Linked DNA regions of Homo sapiens: region 1 is linked to region 2. Evidence: promoter capture Hi-C in 16 types of primary human blood cells and fetal thymus (Javierre and others, 2016). All regions are on one chromosome and are shown on one strand. The core of a region is centred on a gene start or on the middle of the fragment in contact, and the rest is flanking DNA. Distances in the headings are between cores, read along the strand shown.

What was found. Contacts are between HindIII fragments. The CHiCAGO score rates a contact against its expected background, and 5 or more counts as called.
Region 1: a fragment that was not itself captured here is called in contact with the fragment with the promoter of ICA1 in region 2 in 1 of 17 cell types (M1 macrophages); the score reaches 7.0 in M1 macrophages.

Annotation. Positions count from the first base shown.
Region 1 is chr7:7,758,123-7,763,365 of GRCh38, forward strand. The region is part of intron 2 of UMAD1 (UBAP1-MVB12-associated (UMA) domain containing 1); the gene reads left to right. Among named protein-coding and RNA genes, the nearest start is that of RPA3, 42 kb to the left of the region's middle. The HindIII fragment of the contact is 3,828 bases long and covers 319-4,146 here.
Region 2 is chr7:8,257,968-8,263,912 of GRCh38, forward strand. It overlaps ICA1 (islet cell autoantigen 1), which reads right to left and starts at 4,200. Exons shown (of 14, transcript NM_001136020.3): 1 at 4,127-4,200. ICA1-AS1 (ICA1 antisense RNA 1) reads left to right here and starts at 4,258. Exons shown (of 6, transcript NR_125740.1): 1 at 4,258-4,452; 2 at 4,613-4,859. The HindIII fragment of the contact is 9,065 bases long and covers 1,112-5,945 here.

The DNA.
Region 1 (5,243 bases), core at 983-3,482, 500 kb before region 2:
TGGTCTTGAACTCCTGGGCTCAAGCAGTCGTTCTGCCAAGCCTCCCAGTGTGCTATGGTTACGGGCATGAGCCACCGCGTTTGGCCTTGGCTGGATTTTTGGTTTGTTTTTCTTACCTTATTTTGAGAACTAGAGTCGTCTTTGCTTTCCCTTTTTCTCACGTAGCCTATCCCAGTGGTCTTGAATCATTCCCTATGTAGACTGCCTAATCTTTATTTCCCTCTGTTTATGCTGAATTTTTATAGCGAAGATCTTAAGAAAGTGTAAAAGCTGTTTTTACCCATCTTTTTATCTTTAAATTTTTTTATATAATAATTAAGCTTTATAAAAGTTATAAAGTATAATACAACCAACATCCACATACCTACCATCCAGCTTTAGAAAGAAAACATAGTGGGTGGATACTGTGGAAGCTGCCTCTGCACCTTCAGCCTCCATTGAAGAAGCCATTCATTCCCATGCCATTTTCTTATACTTTTACCATATATGGTGTGTAGTTCCAACCTATTTAAAGTACCGTTTTACTTATTTAAACATTTTATATAAGTCTTGTCATTTTCTTTGTATTCTGCAATTTACCTTCTTATTCAATGTTGCATTTTTCAGATTTATACATGTTGATGTTTGTAGCTCTAGTTCATTAATTTTGACTCCTGCGTAATGTTTCTTTGTATGAAGGTACCACAGTTTATCCTTTCTCCGAGTGGTGGGCATTTGTGGACACTCTCTCTCTCCCCACCCTGTTAGAGACAATACTGCCACACAAGTTTTTGTACATATCTTGCTTCACGGATCTTTGTAGCTTTGGTTTTGTTGTGTTTGTTTTTATACAGAAAATGAGTTCTTTGGGGACTAGTCAAATTCTGTGGGCCTCAGATTTTTCATCATAAGATTGAACTAGATCTTTTCTAGCTCAAAATTGCACTTCTTACATGGTTATTTAAACTGGATAGCTTGAATTACTGGCTTTTGTTGTTTGTGTTACCTCACAGGCCCATTAGTATATCTCTTCAGTAGATTATGCCGGATATGGATTTTACTCTGACATGAGAAACTTCCATTTGCAACATTTTTGAGGACAAAAGTGTATGTAGTGTTAGAAACTATCATTAAGCAGGACACAGGACACTAAACCTTCCTTCTCCCCAAGTTTGTTTATCTTTCCTGGACTCTACAGGAATTACAACTGCTATTAATTTAGAATAAACATATAAATAATATATTTTAAAGTATGTTGTCTACATGTGCTGGGTCACCTTCATCCGGCATCAGCCTGGACAGAGGACTCAGGCCCTCTACTTGATTCCATAAGAGTCCGGTTACATCGAGCATTTTGCGCCCTCTTTAAACTTGACTGAGAATTTACAAGGCCACGGGGCTTACAGCATTCTATTTTTCTTTTTGCCTTTCTCTCTTTTTTGCTTCGTACATAAATGAAAATCTAATGTAAAATTGTAAATGGGAAAAGTACTATCATGAAGAAAAAAGTACCAGGGAACCTGAAACGAGATTAAAACTGACTGAAAGGATCTAGGAAGGAGTCTTGGAGGAAGGGAAATTTAAGCTGGTCCTTTAGGGATGAAGACCTTAAAGGTGTATGACAATTAGACATGCTTGTAGGGAAGAAGGAGGAATGGAGATGCTTTCCAGGCAGAGGAAAGATATACGAGGGGAAAAAGTATAAGACCATGACATATTCAGGGAACAGTAAGAGAAGTGGCTCAGACTTTCTGGGAGACAGTCTGCCATATTATCCCCCTTCTTCCCTAACTTAGGCAGTGTTAAAACATGGCTGCATATTCTTTGACACTCTCCCATTGAAAAGTTGTGTCGACGCCCCCTCCTCTTGAATCTAGACGAGCTGATGACTGCCTCAGTCAATAGAATATGGCCAAAGAGACCCTGGCTTACAAGGGTCAGTTGCAAAAGGCCATGTGACTTCTGCTTTGTTTTCTGGAACACTTGCTCTTGGAGCCCGGAGCCACCATTTAAGAAGTCCAACCAGCTTGAGGCCATCATGCTGTAGAGGCATGTGTATAGATGATCTGGTTGACGTTCCCAGCTGAACCCAACTTTCTAGCCATTCTACCAAATGTGAGTGAAGTTGTCCTTCAACTGTTTTCTGACTACCAGTACCCTAGAGCAACCTCTAACATCACTACACAGAACAGAAGAAATGCTCAAGCTCTGCCCGAATTTTTGACTCACAGAGCTGTGAGATATAATACAAATAACCATCCTGGCTAACACGGTGAAACCCTGTCTCTACTAAAAATACAAAAAAATACAAAATAATAATAATAATAATAATAATAATAATAATAATAATAATTGTCTTGAGTTATAAGTAGTTTATTATACACCAATAGATAACTGGAATACCAACCAAAGCCAAAGTGAGGGGATTTTTCTTTAGATGCTTGCTGAAGACAATATTAAGTCATCCAAAAACCTCTCCCCAGAATATACTACTGAATGTAATTTAGCACTTATGGCAGGAAGACTGAGTTTGGATAGCATTCAAGGCAGAGGAAATGACATGAACAAAGATAGCAAGGCAGGGAAGGACAGGACATATGTAAGGTAGAGAGTAATTAGGTTCAGCTAGGAGTAGGGCACCTCCTGGGCACAGTGAAAGAATAGACTAAAAGAGAAGGTTAAGGACATGCTATGAAGGGCCTTGAATGTGAGATTGAAGAAAATAACAGTACCACTGAAGATTTTTTGAAAAGTTTTACTAGCAAAACAGCACTTTTGGGAATTTTTTCAAATGCTTGTGGGATGGACTGAAGTATGGAGAAATTAGGGGATCATTTTGGAAGCTATTGCAAGATACTATGTGAATCAGATCTGTGGTAGCTGCAGCCAGAATGAAGGCTGGAAAATAGATAGGAAATACTGTGGGCAGGACCACCACTGACCTGCTTAGTGCATTTTGTGAATTATGAAAAGGTCACCCCAGCTGGGCACGGTGGCTGACGCCTGTAATCCTAGTACTTTGGGAGGCCAAGGTGGGCAGATTGCTTGAGCCCAGGAATTCAAGTTCAGCTCAGACAACACGGTAAAACCCTGTCTCTACAAAATATACAAAAAATTAGCCAATATGGTGGTATGTGCCTGTGGTCCCAGCTACTCGGGAGGCTGATTTAGGAGACTCACCAGAGTCCAGGAGGTCAAGGATACAGTGAGCTGTGATCGTGTCACTGTACTCCATCCTGGGTGATAAAAGTGAGACCTAACTAAAAAAAAAAAAGTACCACTTCTTTAAGACATTTTACTTCCATCTGTTAGAAAATTGTTGTAATATGTTTATTAGAATAAGACACTTGACTGCCATCTGCTGGAAAATTATTAAAGATATGTCTTTGGTTTCAATGCTCCTCTCCTTTTCACATCCTTGTGCAGTACACAAATTTTGTGGGTGCGAGTAATAGGACTTGGTAACGGATCACATTTCTTATTAAAAGGAAAAGGAAGAAATCTCAAGTTTGGATGGTAGGGAGGTTAGTAGTGACATTAATAGAACTAGAACTTATTATTGGGGAATAGATTTATAAGGCAGAATCATTCTTTACATGGAAAGACACTCATCTTATTATTTATTGATCCCAATTGTTTGCATTTACTTAGTAAGAATTTTGATACCTTTTCTTCTAGAATCTCAGCTCTCCCCCCTTGTGACATCTGAGAATGTTGACCAGTTCCTCTTTTGTATTCCATACACCCCTCTCTTCTGTATCTTTTCTTTCTATTCTGAACGTTGCTTCTTATCCGTCTCCTTTGCAGGCCCTTTTCCCTCAGTTTCCATTCTTGTGCTTTTTTATACAGTGGGCGCTCAATAAATGTTTGTTTAATTGAATTGCATTGCTTTTGAAAGATCAGTTGCAGGTTTTTCAGGAGACTGATTCATAGGCAGTTAGGGACTAAGGGCGTGCCAGAATTCAGAAAGTAGAAACCTATCCTAAATACAGTTCCTTGTTTCGGGATGTATTTTTTACACAGTAGGTCACTCTTCCTTGGGGAATATCTGTACTGTTGATCCGTTCATCATTGTTCAGCAGTGGCAACACCAGGAGAACAAATTATTTACATTGGCTGTGTCATATGGGTGTGTCTAATTCGGAGAACTTTCAAACAAAATAATGAAGCTTCCCCAGCTTCTAACTTGGGAAGTATGAAAAGTTACTTAAAAAAAAATCTTGACTCTTGTTTAAGTACATCAGTGACTGATTAAGTCACAACACATTTTAATATTTTCATTCGAGGTTTCTTGCTAACATTCTTACCACCACTACCACTAACCCCACCCCATGTGTGTAAGTTACTTTTCCTTTCATTTTTCGTGGGTCTTGTGTGTTAAGGCAAAGTCAAGAACTTTGCTCTTCTGATAACTTAACATTGATTGTGTGACTGCTTTGTGCAAATTGCTATGGGATGCCTCATGGAAATTACAAAGGTTTCGTTTGCTTCTGCCCTTCAAGAGAGACTTGCTTAGTGGGAGAAGTAGATGCATATGCAACTGCTCCAGGGCAGGCGATGACAAGGATCATAATATAGTGCAGACAGAGACAGGATTCCCTGTCTTAGAGTGATATAAACATCACTCGAAGACTGAGTCACATATATGGACTTGCCATATTTCTTTCCTAAATTGCACACTTAACTCTTCACTTTCCTGGGCTGGATTAGAATTTGTTTTCGTCGAAGGCTTCATGAGTTGAAAGCACATTACATATATGTAAGATTTAATGGATTTAATTTAAAATGCATTGAATAACATTAATTTTAGCAGGTTTGATTGTTTTAAATGCTTTTAAGCCGGCACTCTTAAACGAAAATAGAGAATATCAGAGTGATATTAAATAAACAATGATATAAAACAGGAGTTTTATGTTTATGGAAACCTAGTATTTAGGAAATAAATATCCTGAAATTCTCTAGCCAAATTATATTTTTAAATGTTTTGAGCATAGGATACAAGTTATAAACAGCCTAGTAGGGAAAAATGTATATTACTGTCATAAACATAGGTAGTATTTAAAATATTAAATATGGATAATTGATATTTAATTGAAGTGCTTTTTATTTAATTAAAGCCAATGACATTTTAAAATTATTTCTTTATTAATTTTTCTTCAATTAAATTTTAGCCTGTATTTTAGATACAAGGGGTGCATGCGCAAGTTTGTTATATGGGACTATTGCATAATGCTAAGGTTTGGGGTATGGATCCCATCACCTGG
Region 2 (5,945 bases), core at 2,950-5,449:
GAACGCTCTTTCTCCCCACTCCCAACCCTTATTTACCTGCTGAATTCCTACTGGTTGTTTCAGGCTCAACTCAAGGGCAATCTCCTCCATGAAGCATCTCAGGGTTTCTCTGCCCTTTCTCCTGTTGGGGTGGGATGCCCCCGCCCTGGGCTGCATTACCACCTGTGTCTCTATCTCCTTCTTGCTTTCCCTGAAAGGCAATTGGTTAGTTGACTCCTCTCTTTCCCTCTTTTACTCAGCTGTACGCTCCTCCAGAGCATGGTGGGGTCTGAGTCTTGGGATTCTGAGTGTTTAGCACAGTGTGTAGCTCATGGCACATATACAACCAATGCTTGTTCAATACTAAGTCATCCCACTTCTCTGATTTGGTCAAAGGCCTGATGGATGATGTCATCTGACTTAGCAAGAGAGACAGATGATTCCCATCATGAGTGATGCAGGCCATCATTTCCCCACCTTTTCATGAACTCATTCTAGCTCACTAGGTTTACACTGGGACAAGGAGTTACCACTAATTGAGGAACTGCCACTTCTCAGACACTGGGGTGTATGCTTCACCCACATCACGGAGTATCCTCGCAATACGGCCAAGTTGACATAATGATTTATATTCATTTCACGAAGAAGTTTAAGTTCAGTTATCTTAAGCAACTGGCCTACAGTCACATAGTAGGCAGGCTTTGTTATAAAAACAGGTATAAAATGCCCTATCACATGTAGTCTTCCCTGTCCTGGAGAGATTCATTAGTTATTTGTGAAAATTACTTACAGGTCAAAAAACAAAAACTATGTTAATTTGATGCTATAATACTAAATAGTAAATTGCTAGAATAGTGAAAGTGTGGTCAGCCAGGATTTTTAGAGGCTCCAAGGCAGTTCTACCATATGCATCTATCCAGGGCAAATCATGCCTGCAGTCCTTATCAGACAGATGGAGATTATAATATCTACTTATCTCAAAGGGGGTTGAGTATCACATAAGATCATAGTTGCCAAAGTGCTTTGTGAAGGAAGAGGACAGAGGCTCATTTTAGAGTAGTGTGCTGGACAGTCTGTGGGAGACCCTAGGGATCAGAGCTACCTGAGATGTTGCTTAACAGCAGATGAAGGAAGCTTGACCGGGAATCCACACTTATTTTAACAAGCCCCCAAATGATTCTCTGGGACACTAAAGTTTGAGAAATAACAGGTTACAGCATTGCTTCTCAAATGTTAACATACTCATGGAGATCTTGTTAAAATGGAGATTTGAATTCACTGGGTCTGGAAGAGAGTAGCAGGCACGCTAAGATTTTGCATTTCTAATAAGCTCCCAGGGGAGGCCACATGCTACTGGTCCATGGACCACGTTTGAGTGACAGGGGCTTGGAAGATCTATCCCCACTGGAACAAATTAGATTTGTTTTGTTTCTGGTTGCACCCCCCAACTTCAGAGAGTGTTTTCCATAAAGCCCAGGGTCTTAGTATTGGTACAAAATTATTTGAACTACTCAAAACCAAATTGAAATACACTTCCTATCACAGGCAAAGCAGCAGCATTCTTTTTAGATACGGATAGCATATGTTTAGCATGTGAAAAAATAATTTATTACTACTGAGTGAGTCCTATTTAAAAGCGTGCAAAGCATTTTATATACATTATCTCTAATCTCCACCCTGCCCCTAAAAAGGTGGATATTCCTGTTCTGTAGATAAGGAAATGGTGACTTAAGTAACTTGGTCAAGGTCACACGGCTAGTTAGGTGTTACCGCAGGGATTCTGATTTTGCTCCATCAGGATCCAAAGCCCATGAGTCCTCCATACTCCCTCAGAGTGTTAGATATGATTGTGATACGAAATGTATCAGCTTGGGAATCAAGAAAAAAGCGGGGGAAAAGTGTTTTTTGAGTTTAAAGTTCTGCTGAGGCAGATTGCGAATGGTGGTGGGGTTGGGGGATAAGATTCATTAGTGATCTATGTTGCCTCATGGACAAAACATGCAGATAGCATCCTTATTAATGGTTCCCATAAATCTAGTAATGCAGATGGAAAAAAAGGACACTAGTGACCAGCGTGCTGATTATAAACACTGCCACCTACCCTCAGGCTCAACCAACGAAGAGGAAAAATTCATCCTGACACTTGGGGCCTGTTAACTTCCTCCCTCTCTCGCATGAGGTTTCTATAATCTTAAAAGTTCATACCAAACATAGGTTTATCCTTCTACGTTATGGCATAACTACCAGACCTCCATACCGCTAATGCTGCTTGCACCTGAAAAAAATGTACTATTTAGTCAAATACCTTGAAAACGTACTGATTTTGAAGGCTCTGAGTAACAAAATTTTCTATACTTTTCGTGAGATTGATCTTTATGCACTGCGGTAAAGATGCGTAGAGAAAGCAGTCAGATAGTTACTCAGGTGTTCCAAATGGGGGAAAATAGTTACAAAATAAACCACCCAGGCAATTACCATCCAGTATCTTTAGCACTCAATGATCCACGGGTGGAGGATACAGGGTTAACGTTTTTTAACATCAGGTCTCTCCACAAATAGCCCGCTGTAGCTTAACTGTTACGTTTTCTAAAGATTCATCTTTATAAACAGTACAATTATTTCCCTTTGTAATACAAACAGAAACAATTAGAAAGCAACATCTCCTGCAATTAAGATGTATGTACAGTATTAGTATAAAACCAAAGAGTGATATTTGAGCTATTCAGGATTATAAATTGATTTTGTCCCTGTGGTATTCTCTACAAAGGGTGTTTCAAAAATAAAGACTGAAATCTAAAAATATATCTTTGGTTTGAAAACTTACTTAAAAGCATTTTTAGAGAGTGTGTGTTTTAAACAGGGGGTATGAAATTGCATCGGGAGCCTAGATTTCAAACTAAGCATTTCTTATTTCACTCCCTAACCACAGAACAGTTCAGATCTCAGATTCAAACCAGAGGGCCACAGAAACCAATTTGAGATTTTCCGAAGAGACTTCACTGAAACGTATGGACAAAAACATGTTTGCGATGAGTCATATTTTATAGGACCTTAATGGCCAATAAATGCCTTATGTGTCTTTCTTCCTACATTCAGTATCACTCCCAAGCAAGCTGGTGACATATTTTCCAGGCCTTGATAATTTTTATACCGTTACCAGATCTCGGTTACTAAGATTCATGAACAAAACCCTTTCTTGCGCTAATTTTTTAATGCCATCTAAATGAAGAGAACGCGATTCTTTCCAAACTAACTCTCCCCAACCAGGCAGTTAATGCCCTTCGCCAGAATAAGGGCGCGATACTTTTAAGACCCCAAAGAGAAGCTCAGGTGCTTTGGGGGTACTACAAGTAAAAAGACAGTGGGAAAGGTTCCTGGAGAGCCGCTTTGGGGGAAAGGCAGACATAACAACAGGATATGTTCGTTTCTAGAGGAAGCAGGAGCTGCAATAGCCCCGGAGCAGGAAAGGCGGAGTCAGCAGCGCCCAAAGGAAACGGGCGCGCCAGGGTTTGCTGGAACCGGGGTTGCTTAGGGGTTCTCGCCCCGTCTAGTCCGAGACTGCTGAGCACCTCGCCCCCGGGGGACCAAGCTCAGGCCTCCTGGCACTAGTGGTTATAAAGAGGTACCCATATGCTCTCTGCCGCCCCTGCCAAAAAAAGGGCCACGGAGGGGAAGAGAAAAAGCACACACCAGGCGCCGCGGCAGGTGAACTTGTCAACAAGTCAACCCTGGACGCAAGTCCCTGCCCACCAGGGAGCTCGGGGTCCTGGGGCCGGAGCCGCCGGGAAGGCGAGGCGCGCGGTGGGTGGGTGGGGTGGGCTGGCATGGGTGCCGGTGCTCCCAGCGCTGGGGCCGGAGCGCGGAACGCTTCCCTACCGCTCCCCCGGGGCTGACGCACGCTCTCACGGCGCGCGCATCCTCCAGACCTTCCCAGGCCGGAGGGAGGAGGGGAGGGGAAGGGGCTGATGCGGTTCCCGCACCGGGATCCGGGACCCGAGGAGGCGACTCGCCTATCACGCGCCGCCCGCGGAGGGCAGAGAAGGCAGCTCCTACCAGGCGTCCCCGACCGTCCCGGCTGCCGGGCGTCTCCTGCTGCTTCCTGCAGCCCGCCCGGCGCGCCCCCGCCCCGACCCCGGAGGGCAGGTACCTCGGAGCCCCGGCCCCCAGGAGCCTCCCGGCCGCGGTCGGAGCGTCCCTCCGGATCACTCATCCGACGTCAGCGTCAGCCGAAGGCGAGGGAAAGGGGCGGGGGGAGCGCAGGAACCGGCCCTTCCTGCGGCGGCCGCCACCAGCCGGAATAGCAACCGGCGGAGCCCGTGCGCACCGCAGCGCAGCGCAGCGGCCGGGGGGTGCGGGCGCCCTCGCCGCCCGGCTACCTACCGCCGCCTGGGCGCCGCCGCTGCCTCCCTTCCCCGCTTCTACCCTCCAGCAGACGCCCGCCGGAGCGACCCCTCCCAGGGTGACCGGGGGAAGGTGGGTGGCGTTGACCTCACCTTGCTTGGGGAGGGTCGGGGACTCGGGGAGTGAGTTTCTCTCTCTCTACTCCCCGGGGTCTCTCCTCGACCCCCATCTCCTGGGGTATCCCCCGCTCGGATCCGCCGCCCAGAGTGACCCCGCCCCTGCTCTCCGGCAGGTGTTCCACGTGGCCATAGCGTTTGCGTCACAATGACCTGGCGGACAGGTGGGAGCCACAGCGTACACCCCAGGGTTCCCTCTGTGCTGTGCGTAGTGCCTACTGCTTGCTTCCAGGTTAAATTTCTGTAGCTTTAGAGGACAGGAGACTTCATGACTTCACTGCCAAGAAAAGTTACAGAGGCCTGCTGTACCTGGAAATCAAGTTTGAGCTTCGAGAATAAAGGTCATGTTTTAAAAACAGCTGTGTATGTATAGGTATATGTTTTTCATTTCCATATATTTCTGTATCTTTTATTTTTAAGTTATTGCCATTTGTAGCAGTTTCATCTTCTCTTATCCTTTGTCACCAGGAAAGAACCAAACCATTGTTTCTAGAGACCCTGCAGTATACAGATCACAGGAAGAAAAAGTGTTGGCATAGCTGCTTCCTAATATTATCTATGTGGAAATGAAACCTCAATGTAGTATGACTTCATCCCTAGTTATGTTATACATTTATAAATAAGTTCATTCAGTCGTCGCTGAAACAATTTAAAAGGGCCGAATGATAGTTATTGAGTAATGATGCTGACGAATCAGAAATCCTGCGCTAACATGGATGGAGTGCTAGCTCTATGTCCGGCACATGCTGTATGCTTTATATTTAATCCTTACAGCAACCCAATACTGTAGATAAAATCATTATCCCGATTTCACAGATGAAGACACTGCCCAGAGTGCCATAAAGAGATTATTGAGCAGGGATTTGAATCTGAACCAGGAGACTTAGCTTAATCTCAAGATAGCATGGTGTCTTGCCAGAATGGATGGAGAAAAAGTATAGAATATGTTGACATTTTAATAGAAAGATAATAAGATACCTCCAGAAATTTACATAACCTTTAAAGTTATTCTTTGGGGATTCTGTTTGTCATAGATTTGAGCCTGTCCTAGTCTTAACACGAATTTTGGAGCTGAGTAAACATCTCCTTAGTAAGTGTGTATGAGTAAACAAATCATGAATATGGTCTACAAAATAGCAAATTGTTGAAAAGCTAAGATTCAGGAGAAATTTTCAGAGAGAAAAGCATTGCTTATATATATTTGGCTTTTATAAAAAAAAATTCAAACTAACGTGTTAACAACGCAAGCCAAATGATTTTGCTGTAAGAAAAAAAACCCAAAGCCTTTAAAATGAGAAAGTCTTCCTTACAAAAGAAAGATGATTAAGATATGTTAAGATACATTGATTCCAAGAACTGTAAATTTATGTGTAAAAAGCTATTATCGGGAGTTAAAAGGATAAAGAGATTATTATTCTTTAACAGAATGAAGTGCCGTAATGAACATCA